Linked DNA regions of Homo sapiens: region 2 is linked to region 1. Evidence: promoter capture Hi-C in 16 types of primary human blood cells and fetal thymus (Javierre and others, 2016). All regions are on one chromosome and are shown on one strand. The core of a region is centred on a gene start or on the middle of the fragment in contact, and the rest is flanking DNA. Distances in the headings are between cores, read along the strand shown.

Region 1 (6,684 bases), core at 1,777-4,276:
GGCCACTACAAACCACCCACCCTTTCTCGCTCCCTGTGGCAAGGGTCCTGGGTTTAACATAGCCAGGTCCTGGGTTTAACATAGCCAGGTCCTGGGTTTAACATAGCCAGGTCCTGGGTTTAACATAGCCAGGTCCTGGGTTTAACATAGCCAGGTCCTGGGTTTAACATAGCCAAGGTAAGCCTGACACCTTGTGGTTGCATTGCGAACGGCAGGAGCTACCTTGGAAGTTAGCAGCACTGCACATCTGGGGAAGGGGAAATCCAGGAGGGAGCGGGGACTGCGGGGCCAGTCAATGAACCAGTCAGCAGGTGGTGGTGGTGGTGGTGGCGGCGGCGGCGGTGGTGGGTGGTGGGGGTGGTGGGGGTGGTGGTGATGTTGTTGTTGAAATGAGGAAGGATAAAGTCCAGAACTCACTATCTGACTTCTCTCTCCAAAGAGAACTTCCAAAATGCTACCTATGGGGGCACTTCATCCTATTAAAAAAATGAAGCAGCAGTGGCCAGGCTCGGTGGCTCACGCCTGTAATCCCAGTACTTTGGGAGGCCAAGGTGGGAGAATCACCTGACGTCAGGAGTTCAAGACCAGCCTGACCAACATGGTGAAACCCTGTCTCTACTAAAAAAAAAAAAAAACATCAGCCGGGCATGGTGGCAGGAGCCTGTAATCCCAGCTGCTTGGGAGGCTGAGGCAAGAGAATCACTTGAACCCTGGAGGCGGTTTCAGTGAGCTGAGATCTCGCCATTGCACTCCAGCCTGGGTAACAAGAGCGAAACGCCATCTCAAAAAATTAAAAACTAAAATAAAAATGAAGCAGCAACTTCCAGAGCCTTCACAACCAAAGGCTCCATGGACACTCAAGACTTTCCTTGGTTCAGTTAAATCTCCCACTTCTAGCCCTTAGCATTCGGGCGGGAGAAAGGGAAACTGGGCACGCTCCTCACTCCCACTCCTCCCAGATGCTTACACTCGAGAAAGAAGGAAAACCCACAGGACCTAACTGCTACTGAAAATCAGGAGTTAGCTGGCACAGTAGCTCACACCTATAATCCCAGCACTTTGGGAGGTTGAGGCAGGCGGATCACCTGAGGTCAGGAGTTGGAGACCAGCCTGGCCAAAATGGTGAAACCCCATCTCTACTGAAAGTACAAAAGTTAGCCAGGTGTGGTGGTGCCTGCCTGCAGTCTCAGCTACTTGGGAGGCTGAGGCAGGAGAATCTCTTGAACCTGAGAGGGAGAAGTTGCTGTAAGCCAAGATCGCACCATTGCACTCCAGCCTGGGTGACAAAGTGAGACTGTGTCTCAAAAAGAGAAAATCAGGAGTTGTACTCTGGGAAACAGCAAATAAGGGGCTTCAAGGAGGTAAAAACCAGTCATTGAACTGTTACAATAGCCCTGAGGCAACACAGAGTTGTATTCATTGCTTGCCCAGGTCAGACTGTCCCAAGCACTGTACAGGATGTCCCAAGCACTGTACACTGTGCTAGGACGAAGTGTTTTGCTTGTTTTGAGAAAAGGGTTGAAGAGACCATTCTTTCCATTGTCCTTCCTCTAGAAGTGTTTCCCCAAAACATTCTAGACTCGTTATTCCTATCCTATAAATTATGCAGGAAAGGAGGTTCTGCACCATGCTAGGTTGGGAAGTTCATCCTTTCATCTAATTCACAGCTGTCCCTCTGTGTTTCTGAGAAAGCAAAGAGAGGGGGGATACTTAGAGGGAATTTGGCAGCACTTTCCCCTGGGCAAGAGCCTCCTCTTTGGAGGTAACAAGCCCTGAGAGTCTCAGATGCATGCTGAACCACCACACTGCAGGAAGGGGTCAGATGGGCTGAAAAGAATCAGCGATGACCTCGACTGTCAACATCCCCAGCATAAGCACAGAGCTGGGTACCTGGGGGCAGGTGAATTGGCAAAGGATTTAAAGGCCCTGATCCCAGCGGTTCCTAATGCATCACCCACATTGACAACTCAGAGAAAGGCACAGTTGGTGGATGAGTCTAGAGTTTGTAGGTAGAGAACAGGGCCCTCCACCCAATCCAGACCTGTGTCATTGAGACTGGGATGGGATGCAGTTTTGTGGTCTTGAGACCATGTCATCCCTCTCTTCCTGAATACTACCCCCTTCCCTAGGGGGCAGTGGTGACATGGGACAGAATAAATTCACCTCATACACATTTGTTCCTGGGGCTGTGGCAACGCAGTGAAAGGGCCTGCCACCTTACTTGAAGTCCCGGGCAACTAGCAGTATCCAGAAGAGAAGACCTTTTTCAGGGACTGGAGGTCTGTTTCCCTCTTGGGGAAATGCTAACTTCCAACCTCAGTGCTGGTAACTTACCACTGTGCTGGCCTCTGCCCCACCTGCCCTCTAACAGGACAGTGAGAGTCCCTCTTAGGGTTAACCAGGTGGGTTGTTTTTTGTTTTGTTTTTGTTTTCCCCATCTTCAGTTTGGAGTGAAAGTTAGGAAGGCTGTGCAGTAGTGATGAGAGGAGGGCATGATTTTAGCATGACCTTTTCCTCCTCTCCCTTTATGCTTTACAATGAAAAGCTCAGGAACCTTCTCCCCACACAGTCGGATCTCCGGAGGCATCTGCAGGGATCCCAACAGTGTCGGGCTCTGCAGTCGGACTCTGCAGGGATCCGAACAGGGTCGCTGAGACCAGTGCACGAGCCTCTTCGGAAGATGCATCCTGGACTCTTGGCCGCAGAGGAGAAAGCGGTTGGGGTCTCCCAGGGACTCTTTCTAAAGGGTCAGTCCAGCATGGTAGGGGTTAACGTGGGTCCACGCGTAGAGGGAAAGGAAAGAAGTTGTAGTTGACACTTCAGGGGGGCGGGTGGCGGACGGGTCTCGCTGCCTGATTGGTTTTGCATTTCATCCCAATTTTTTTTTCTCCACTCTCTCTCCCTCTTTTCAGTTTCTCTCTCTGATCCCAGGGGAGGGGAAACGGGAATAGTGAGAGATCAAAAATAAACCTCTTATGTCAAGCCGGGAAGGAAGTATAAATAAGAAGGGCTCGGCAGCCCACTCGGTGCTTCCCGGGGTGGGGAGGAGGCAGGAGGCGGCTGCGCGGGGCTGGCGCGGGCAGGGGCGGAGGACGGGCGCACGCGGGCCGGGGCCAGCTGCTCGCGCTCGGCTCGGGGGCGGCGGCGCGGGAGGAGCGGGCTGCGCCAGCCAGAGGGGCCGCCGGGGGAGCGCTCCCGCCGCCGGGCCCCGCGGGCCGAGTCGGCCTTGCACCCGATTGATTCCGCTTTTCCTGGAGAGAGCGGCCGGGCCGCGCTCGGGCCGCCAGCACCTGCCCGCGCCTGGCGGGCTTCTTCCCTCTCCTGCGCGCAGCCACCGCCGCAGCCCCCATGCTCCCCGCCCCCGCCGCCCCCCGGTGGCCTCCGCTCCTGCTGCTGCTGCTGCTGCTGCTGCCGCTGGCCCGCGGCGCCCCGGCCCGGCCCGCAGCCGGGGGGCAGGCCTCGGAGCTGGTGGTGCCCACGCGGTTGCCCGGCAGCGCGGGCGAGCTCGCGCTCCACCTGTCCGCCTTCGGCAAGGGCTTCGTGCTGCGCCTGGCGCCCGACGACAGCTTCCTAGCGCCCGAGTTCAAGATCGAGCGCCTCGGGGGCTCCGGCCGGGCGACCGGGGGCGAGCGGGGGCTGCGCGGCTGCTTCTTCTCCGGCACCGTGAATGGGGAGCCCGAGTCGCTGGCGGCGGTCAGCCTGTGCCGCGGGCTGAGCGGCTCCTTCCTGCTGGACGGCGAGGAGTTCACCATCCAGCCGCAGGGCGCGGGGGGCTCCCTGGCTCAGCCGCACCGCCTGCAGCGCTGGGGTCCCGCCGGAGCCCGCCCCCTCCCGCGAGGACCCGAGTGGGAGGTGGAGACGGGAGAGGGTCAGAGGCAGGAGAGAGGAGACCACCAGGAGGACAGCGAGGAGGAGAGCCAAGAAGAGGAGGCAGAAGGCGCTAGCGAGCCGCCACCGCCCCTGGGGGCCACGAGTAGGACCAAGCGGTTTGTGTCTGAGGCGCGCTTCGTGGAGACGCTGCTGGTGGCCGATGCGTCCATGGCTGCCTTCTACGGGGCCGACCTGCAGGTAGGACTGAGAGCCTCCTCCAGCCGCCGTGCCCGGAGGCCCCCCAGACGCCTCCCAGCGTCTCTAAAATCTCCCCTTCCAATCCCTCTGAGAAAAAAAAAAAAAAAAAAAAAAAGCCCTCCCCACTCATCTTCTCCAGCCTTACCCCAAACGAGATTCTCTCCTGTCTGAGAAAGAGCAGTAACTCTTTTCTGAACTTCTGCCACCCTGGATCCCTGCGCCCCCACCCCCAGGTCCCTTCCAGTTTAGAGTGGGGCTGCCGACGCCCATCCCTCTCATCCGAATCTCCCGCGGCACGTGGCGCACTGACCCGAAAGTGGGTATCAACGCATTCCCCGGCACCTGCCTCTCCCAGCAGAGATGAAAATTGAGCGTTTACGAATAGCTCCCACTCCCACCCCTCAGCCCTCTACTGCCTCCAGATCTGAGAGGCTCCCAGGGAAAGGCAGATGGGATGGAGAGAGATGGCTGTCTGATTCCCTTGGGTATGGAGGTCGCCATAAGCAAAAGACATTGTTTGAAAGGAGCTGAACCTGGAGAGGGGCTGCCCAACTTCTGTGCAGCCAGCTGGTTGTGATCAATGGGGCATGGACTACCTTGCCAACCTGGCGCTCAGCCCCGGCAGAACTTGGCAATGCCAGCAGCCAGCACAAGAGGGAGGGGCAGAGAACTTCTGCCTGGGGGCTCAGCCCAGGAGCTGAAGCTTTGGTGGAAACGCGAGGGGCGCAGGGGCTGGAACGAGCTCTTTGGGTGAATGTCTCTAGTAAAGCCAGACCCACACTTGGTCCACCCAGCTGCCCTTAGCCCAGACACAGCTCTTACCTAAACAGGGGAGAAAAACAGAGTCCAGGGGATGGCTACCTAACCAGACCATTTCTAACTAGATGCAAAGATGGTGCTGACTCAGCAGGAGGTGTCTGTGTTGCCCTAAACCCCAATTTCTCCCCTAAAGACCAGGTGAAGGCTTTTCCAGGAGGAAAAGAGGGTAAGGCTTCCAGAAGAGGGGTGCTCTTTGCCCCTAGGGAGCACAGAACCAGAGATGTGCCAGGGAAGGAAGAACTGACCTGCCCAGACGTCATAGTTCCCTGAAACAGGGATCCTGGCAATGCAGCAGCTAAGCTGACACTTTGTGGTGATGGCATCCTTGGCCGGGACCCAATACTAGGCTCAGTCTGTGCCCGACTGCTGGGGGCCCCAAGGGCATAGGCATTGCCTGTGCAGAATAGTCCAGACAAGGAGGCGATCAGCCTTCTGTTTCTCACCCCATCTTTCCCACCCTCTATCACTGGGAAAGGCAGGGTAGGAAAGACCCAGGGAGAAACAGATGATTAGGATGGGAACTGCTGTGGGTGAGAGTCCACGTGGCTGCCCCTCTGGCTACTGCAGGTGCTGACTACACCCCAGGGACGCACCCCTGCAAGCCCTTGTGGTATTTGCTTCCCCAAAAGCAGGGCAGAGCAGCTTTGGGTCACGCTGATTTAACACCTGTTTCCCTGCCTGTCCTGAGAGCACGGAGCGGTGGGAGCACCAGCCCTCTCCTCTGACTCCTTTCTTTAAGCAAGTACTAGAGAGTGTGGCAGGAGAGGGGTGAGAAGAGGGCTTCTCCCATCTCTTTAGGACCCCCACACCTGGCTCCTAGGGGGCTCCACCAGAAAGAAGCTAAGATGGCCGGGCACGGTGGCTCAAGCCTGTAATCCCAGCACTTTAGGAGGCCGAGGTGGGCAGATCGCAAGCTCAGGAGATCAAGACCATCCTGGCTAACACGGTGAAACCCCGTCTCTACTAAAAATACAAAAAAAATAGCCAGGCGTGGTGGTGGGCGCCTGTAGTCCCAGCTACTCGGGAGGCTGAGGCAGGAGAATGGTGTCAACTCAGGAGGCAGAGCTTGCAGTGAGCGGAGACCGCGCCACTGCACTCCAGCCTGGGTGACAGAGCAAGACTCCATCTTAAAAAAAAAAAAAAAGAAAAAAGAAAAACACAAAAAAAGTAAGAAGCTAAGATGCACCCATTGCAAACCCAGAGCGGGGTGCTACACCCCTCTACCCCCACACATGGAACAGATTCTGACATCTACCTAAGAACCAAAACATAGGAAAGCCAAGAGAACTCCGTGCCAGCAGAGAAAGTCCATTTTTCAGCCTTCAGGGCCAGACTGTCTCACTCTCTCAGCTGATCACCTGGACGCTGGAGATAACTGAGTATTTGCCTCAGGGACATACTCGCATCTCCAGACATCCTAGCTATCTAGAGGCAGACATGCTCTGAGGCCCGACCCCAGGATGCCCGGGCTGCTGAAGCAGGAGACTCTGCTTGGGTTTGCACCCGATTTTGTTCCCTTCAGCTTAAAGTTCAGGTCTGCTGCCCCAGACAATTCGGCTTTCTCTGTGTCAGAGACACCCAGGCATTGCCATCCTCATGAGACTCCTGACCGGGCGATGTGGCTCCTGCTTGCCCCGCTCCCCATCCCCCACAAACACGCATTTCTGGACCTTTCCCAGCTGCACATTGGCACCTGCACACCCAGCCAGCCCACCTGGACCAGGAGAGCGCAGCAAAACAGGCATCGGGCACCTCTGAAGGCTGAGTTCCTCTCCCTAGGGGGTTGACTTCTGAGTC
Region 2 (6,684 bases), core at 1,302-3,801, 210 kb after region 1:
AGAGCCTTTCCTGCTAGGTTGAGACTTTGTATTATGTTCACATAACATCCTGCGCTTCTATTACTAATGTAACTGACTAAACAGCTGGACTAAACCCCATTACATCAAGTTCCACTAGGACAGTGACCGTATCTGTTTCTTGTACCAGGGGGTCCCCAGGCCCAAGGTTGTTTGAATGAATGAAGTCTCTGCCCTTAAGGAACTTATGGAAGTAAGCAGAAGTAAAGAAGAATTACAGAAATACAACTGATAGAAATAACTGATTGCCCTGAGAGAAACACCAAAAAGTATACTTTGGAAATTTGAAGAAGTGGGAGACCTGGCTGGAGGGGTGAGGGAAGGTAGCATGGCAGAGGCACCACTTGAGCTGGGTCTTCCTTGGGAAGAGATGTAGGATTTGTACAGACAAGTGACGGAGAAGGAGATGACTCCGGGAAGCAATACGCAGCCTCAGAGGTTGAGGGAACAGAAGGAGTGTAGCTTGCTGAGCCTTGCAGGATCCCTGAAGGGAAAGAGTGGAAGAAAACCTTGTAAACTAGACTAGCACCAGGTCAGAGAAGGCCTGAAGAACTGCAGCTATATTTGGTAGGAAATCGAGAATCGTCTCACATTTTCGAGCACAGAAACATCAGAGCCCTCTCTAGAAATATTAAAAGCAGATTAAAGGGATGCATACGGACTTAACTGAGACCCCTGAGTTACAACAGAACTTCGGGTAAGAACCCAGAAGAAGGGGATGGGAGTAGGGCTGGAGAGGAAGGGATGTGTGTTCGTGACATCGGGGCTGACGGAGACGTGGTAGGTGGGGAGAGTGGGGAGAGGCGGACCTGATCTTCAGTCCAGGTGTCCTCTGTGCACCGTAGAGAATAGCTGCTGCATTCTAAGCTGTAGCAACACCAAGTGTGTGGCCTTAAACGCTTAGGCAACCTCCCTTTTCTGTTGTTGGTTTCTTTGAGAGGGAACTGTCTGAGAGAAAATGGAGCAAGAATTAGGCCAAGTTCAAGAGTTGGGCTTCAGAATTAGGCTAAAGGAGAGATTCCCCGCGTCGCTAATCCCAGCACTTTGGGAGGCTGAGGTGGGTGGATCACCTGAGGTCAGGACTTTGAGACCAGCCTGGCCAACGTGGTAAAACCCCAACTTTACTAAAAGTACAAAAAAATAGCCGGGCGTGGTGGCGGGCGCCTGTAATCCCACCTACTGGGGAGGCTGAGGCAGGAGAATCGCATGAACCCAGGAGGCGGAGGTTCCAGTGATCCGAGATTGCGCCACTGCACTCCAGCCTGGGCAACAAGAGCAAAACTCTGGCTCAAAAAAAGATGGCTTTTCCTGGACAAAGTCGAAGCTTGTTTCCCCAACACAAGCCAAGGACCCTGTGGCTGTGAGCTAGAGGCAGGTGCTTGCGGCACTTATAGATTTTAATTTTTAAAAGAGCTCATTCTCCATATCCAAATTGTTGGCATCTGTGGGAATTTAAAATGCCATTTAAAAGACCTGTACCTGTCAGATCCCGAGACACGTCTTTCCCACAGAGAGTCTGGCTGACTACACAGCTACTCCTGCGTGTAGGACGCAGAATGCCTATGCGTGCAGATGTGCTTCACGGGCATGTGCCATGTGTTCATTCAGTAGATATGAAATGGCTTTCATAAGAACGTTTAACTGCCCTGGAGAAGGCCTGGGAAGGGGATGAGATTTAAACAGGGGCATTGTGCATTTGCATTGATTCATCCGATAGTACCCGATATGTGCCAGTACGAACCCCGCCCCCGCCACTTGCCTATGAGCATTCCAGTCCCCTACATAGATACAGGCTGTCACACACGGCAGGGATTTCCTTGTGGTCTCAAGAGAAACACTGGCACAGACTAGCTTTGGAGGAAGAGTTAGTTCTAACTTTACGTTGTGCTTTGTAAGTACGCCAATACATGCACATGTATCTACACAGACACACAGACGTGTACAACTTATCTCAATGGAGAGTAGGGAAAACTGAAGGAGAGGCCTCCCCAGTTGAGTAAGAGAGAACCTTTGGACCCCTAGTCCTCCCCATGTCATCGGAATGCTCTGTAACCACCAGTCATGCCCACCCACATGCCTTCTCCCAGACCCTGGTGGGATTGGACAGTAGGGCCCTGTGCCTCCACCCATGAGGTACATGACAACAAGAGCCCTTCCACACACACAAATCGCCGTGCTCCCCGTGGAGCCTGCCGTGGCAGCCAGCCCCTGACTGGCCTCTGTTAACAGGCATCAGGTGTGGAAGGAATTGCCCCAATTTGCTGATTGTCTCTCCACCTGGACCGTTCCAGGCACAGTCATCGGTTTGCCCCACCTCTCGTGTGCATCAGCGCACTTTCCAGTTCCTCTTCCAGAGGAAAGCGTAGGTAGGGAGTGGGGCAGAGGGATGAGCAGAGCCAAGAGCAGGGAAACCACCAAGCAGCTCGGCTCTGCCCAGCAGCCCTCAGTCTCCAGGGGAACCAGCTGCCACCCACACAGCATGCAGCGCCCAAGCTCCAGAACCTCGGAGTGTGGGCCTCGTCCCTGGTTCTCCCCACACGGCATCCCAAGAGGCCACCTGTAGGTGCGGGGAGTGAGCAGCTCTGTAACCTGTGCTCAGAGACACTAAGGTTCGGTGCATGCTTCCCAGAAGTTGTCCACGGTGCCGTTACAAGAATAGCCAGTGTCCAAAACAGAGGAGGCTCACGCATCTTAAGAAGGATGAAAAGCATCTGGGTGGCCATGGCAGGTTCCAGGTCATGTGGATCCAGAGTGACAGGAACATGTGGTAAGAAACACGCTTACCTTTCCAGAGCCAAAAACTCATCCTTCAGTGGCTGAGTGCTGATGAAATGTTTACAAACCACTCAGCCCGTACCCTCTGCCTCTGGAAGGTTCCCTCCTTCCGCCTGTGGTAGACGTGCAGGCAGGAGGGCTCTCGGTGCGTGGGGATGCGAGGCAGGAGCTTGCCATGCGCGTCCCTTCCCCTCCCTGCACCTCGCTGCCCTCCAGGCGTTATTCGGAGGATCCCAGCGGTACTCCTGGTTCCTAGAACAAGGCCTGGCAAACAGACGCCAGTGAGTACCCTCTAGATGAACACATGGGGAGACAGAAGGGTGAAGCTACTGGCCGGGTGCAGTGGCTCACGCCTGTAATCCCAGCACTTTGGGAGGCCAAGGCGGGTGGATCACGAGGTCAGGAGATCGAGACCATCCTGGCTAACACGGTGAAACCCCGTCTCTACTAAAAGTACAAAAAATCAGCCGGGCGTGGTGGCGGGCGCCTGTAGTCCCAGCTACTCGGGAGGCTGAGGCAGGAGAATGGCGTGAACCCGGGAGGCGGAGCTTGTAGTGAGCCAAGATCGCGCCACTGCACTCCAGCCTGGGTGACAGAGAGAGACTCTGTCTCAAAAAAAAAAAAAAAAAAAAAAAAAAAGTGAAGCTACTGGAAATGGGTCCACAGGAATGCAAGTCTGGTAATCAGGTTACAGTTAAACACCCCAAGTACGATATGAGCCTCAATATACTTCCTCCCTCCCTTGGGCATTTTCGGAAATGAAGGAACGCCAATTATGAACTGTTCACAGAGAAGTCCAGCCCTTCACGGCTCGGGGTGCTCCTTGGTGCCCCCGTACCGAAAGTGGTGCGTGCCAGCTCTGCAGGACCTTAGCAAGCCCCACCCCAAGTCTTCATCCACTTCCCTAGGCCTTAATATGAACATAGCAGGTTAGCAGCATTATTTAACCTTGGAGAAGAAAAGCTTTATAGATGTGAAGGCTTCCAGGTACATTAAATAAGAAATCCAAGCTCTGGCAGAGGTGATCTGAGGAGCATCTCTATACCCCTGAGAAGACAGCAAAGAGAGGACTTGGTTCCCCATAGTAGTGACCATGTTCCCAAATTCCCTTGGCCTCCCATAAACCTGCTCCAACCCGGGAATGTGCCAGGGACTCCTGTGTGGCTCCAGCCCTTACCACTCTCCAAGGTCACAGAAGTGAGGCCTGCTCCATGTGTGCAGAGATGGACCGTTTTGGTCAAGTGTTCAGGAAACGCTTGTGGGACTTTAGGTGTCTGCCAGCCTCTCCAAGACACAGTGAGTTCCCCACTGTATGCCCAAAACACCCGGGGTGAGGGTCAGGGCACAGGAAGGTAGCCCGGCCAGCCCCTGGAACGCCACCTTCACAGCGGTGTCCAAATCTGAGGCCTCCAGGCCTGATGTTTCTACTCATGGAAACACAGGTGTTCGACGTCTATGCTTCACCAAGACGCACCATAAACCGTGTGGGCAGGGGCTTGTGGAGAGAGGTGGGCTGCCCAAAGCTGCCTTCTGAACCACACATCCATCCTGCCCTGCTGCCCAGCTGGCCCCGCTGAAACACACTGTGCGTTCCCTGCTGCCCTCACTGCAGTGAGTCCCAGGGCGGACACTGAACCAGGCCCAAATCATCTTTACTGAACCCAAACTTACAAAACATTATTTTAAAAACTAAACCAGGCTGGGCGTGGTGGCTCACGCCTGTAATCTCAGCACTTTGGGAGGCCAAGGCGGGTGGATCACCTGAGGTCAGGAGTTTGAGACCAGCCTGGCCAACATGGCGAAACCCTATCTCTCATAAAAATACAAAAATTAGCCAGGCATGGTAGCAGGCACCTGTGATCCCAGCTACTCGAGAGGCTGAGGTGAGAGAATCACTTGAACTGGGGAGGCAGAGGTTGCATTGAGTCAAGATCACGCCATTGCACTCCAGCCTGGGCAACAGAGCAAGACTCCATCTCAGAAAAGAAAAAAAAAAAATTAAATGTCTTTTGTTTAAAATAAATACCCAACAAAATAGTTCAAGCTGTGAACCACTCATTCGTTTTTCAGAAGCCTTTGAATTAGAACAAAATGGAATTATATTTTCAGCTTGGGTCTTGCTACATGTCCCCAGGTCCCAGTGAAAATCCTTGTTACTGATGATGCAGGAATATTTCTGTGCCCCCCACACAGGTCCAGTTTGTGGGTCTTCTTTGGGACTGGAAAATCTGGGCACAGGGGCCGGCCCTGCAGAATCTCTCTCCAGCCCTTCCCCTCTAGGCTCCAGTCCGAGGCCCGCCCCATCACCCCTGGCCTCTGTTCCCTTTGCTTAAGCTTCCCGCAAGGCCAAGCAGCCTTCAGCAGAACTGAACTGCTCAGGGAGGAAGACGAGGGTCACAGGCTGATCCTCCTGAATCAGAGGACAGAACATGTTGTTCTAGTGCCCACGGCCAAGACCTCAAGGAAACATATTCTCCCTCCAGTCCACACTGCCCCAGGCAGAGGAGTAAGACGAAGCAGATGGTTTGGCCCCTTAGAGAGGGAAATGCCCAGGGGCTGCTGGGGGTGGCCAAGGAAAGAAAGGACATGGGGAAGATTTTGAAATGCTAATGGAGCCGGGTTGGAGTCCTGCCAGCGAAAGTCTGTTTTGGCCTTTTCCACGTGTGCCTAAGCCAGTGAGTTTATGACCTGGCGAGAGAGGTCCTGGCTCCAGCACCTAAAGCCCCAGGTGGAGCATGCATTGGCTGCAGGAGGCTGTGCGGGTGGACCCAGTGGCCCAGGTGCACCCTTCTCTTCCCCTACTGAGGAACCGTGAGCAGCAGGCTCTCTATCTGCACGGCCACAGCGTCCTCTCCTATAACTGGGAATGACAGAACCCACTCCCGAGGACTGTGATGACGCTGAAGTGAGAGGTGAAGTGAGAGGATGCATCCACGCCGCCAGAGTCCCTGACACTTCTTTGACATACAGATTGGAGCAGTCACTCTTCCAGGGCCTCTCCAGCTCTCACATCCAGCGCAGGGGACAGGAAGAGGCCGCTTGGCATCCCACTTGGCAAGGTCAGGGGCACAAAGACGGGGTGGAAGCACAGTGGGGTCCCAGGCTGGACGGGCCTGTCCGTGCTCCCACATTAGGACGGATTAAAATGCCTCGTGGGCATCTGGCGTAGGTCACCTTGAATTTCAGGTTCTTTCCAACCGTGAGGTTCCAGTTCTGAAAGGATGTCCCTCAGGCAGCTGCTTTCCTGGGAAACAGCAACTCCACTGAGCCTTGGAGGGTCATAAAGGTCCCCGCACACACCCCAGAAGGCCCCAGAGAGGCACCTTTCCTGTGCTCGGCTCAGGCTGGTCGGCCAGACCCCGTGACCTGACCCTGCCAGGAATGTGACCTGTCTGCCCGCCCAGACGTGCCCAGGACCTTGTTTCCCAAGTGTCTGCCTCATCTGGGGGCCCGATGCCCCCAGCCTACACCGGGTGCCCTTTCCGCAGTCACAGATGCCTGATTTGTTGAATTAATGAGCGGCTGCTTCTCTCATCCTTTCCCTTGGCTCATTCAAGTAAGCTTGTTACCCATTCTTTTGCAACAGAGTCACATGTGTCAAACAGATTTCATTTTTTTCCTAGTTTATGCCTATACATTTCTTCTGTCCTATTTGTCTTCATTGGGATTTGGATGGGAATTGGATTATGAGCTGCAAAGAGGTGTCAGATACCCAGTGTATTCTGGGAGCTGTCCTCCGAATGTCCTTCTGCATGAAGACTGAGATCTTCTCCACCCTTCCTGGGTGGGCCTGGTCCCTCGACCCCCTCCCTCACACTGCAACCTCAGAGCTCTGTGGAAAAAGCACACAGGCTGAGGGTGGTAGAATTTCCCTGTTGAGCTCTTTCCCTA

The links. The method cuts DNA at HindIII sites, captures the fragments that hold promoters and counts their contacts. A CHiCAGO score of 5 or more calls a contact.
Region 2: a fragment that was not itself captured here is called in contact with the fragment with the promoter of ADAMTS8 in region 1 in 5 of 17 cell types (naive B cells, total CD8 T cells, total B cells and 2 more); the score reaches 7.9 in naive B cells.

The regions. Positions count from the first base shown.
Region 1 is chr11:130,424,951-130,431,634 of GRCh38, reverse strand. ADAMTS8 (ADAM metallopeptidase with thrombospondin type 1 motif 8) reads left to right here and starts at 3,026. Exons shown (of 9, transcript NM_007037.6): 1 at 3,026-4,068. The coding sequence starts at 3,349. The HindIII fragment of the contact is 10,262 bases long and covers 1-4,773 here.
Region 2 is chr11:130,216,286-130,222,969 of GRCh38, reverse strand. No RefSeq gene overlaps it. Among named protein-coding and RNA genes, the nearest start is that of ST14, 60 kb to the right of the region's middle. The HindIII fragment of the contact is 2,414 bases long and covers 1,345-3,758 here.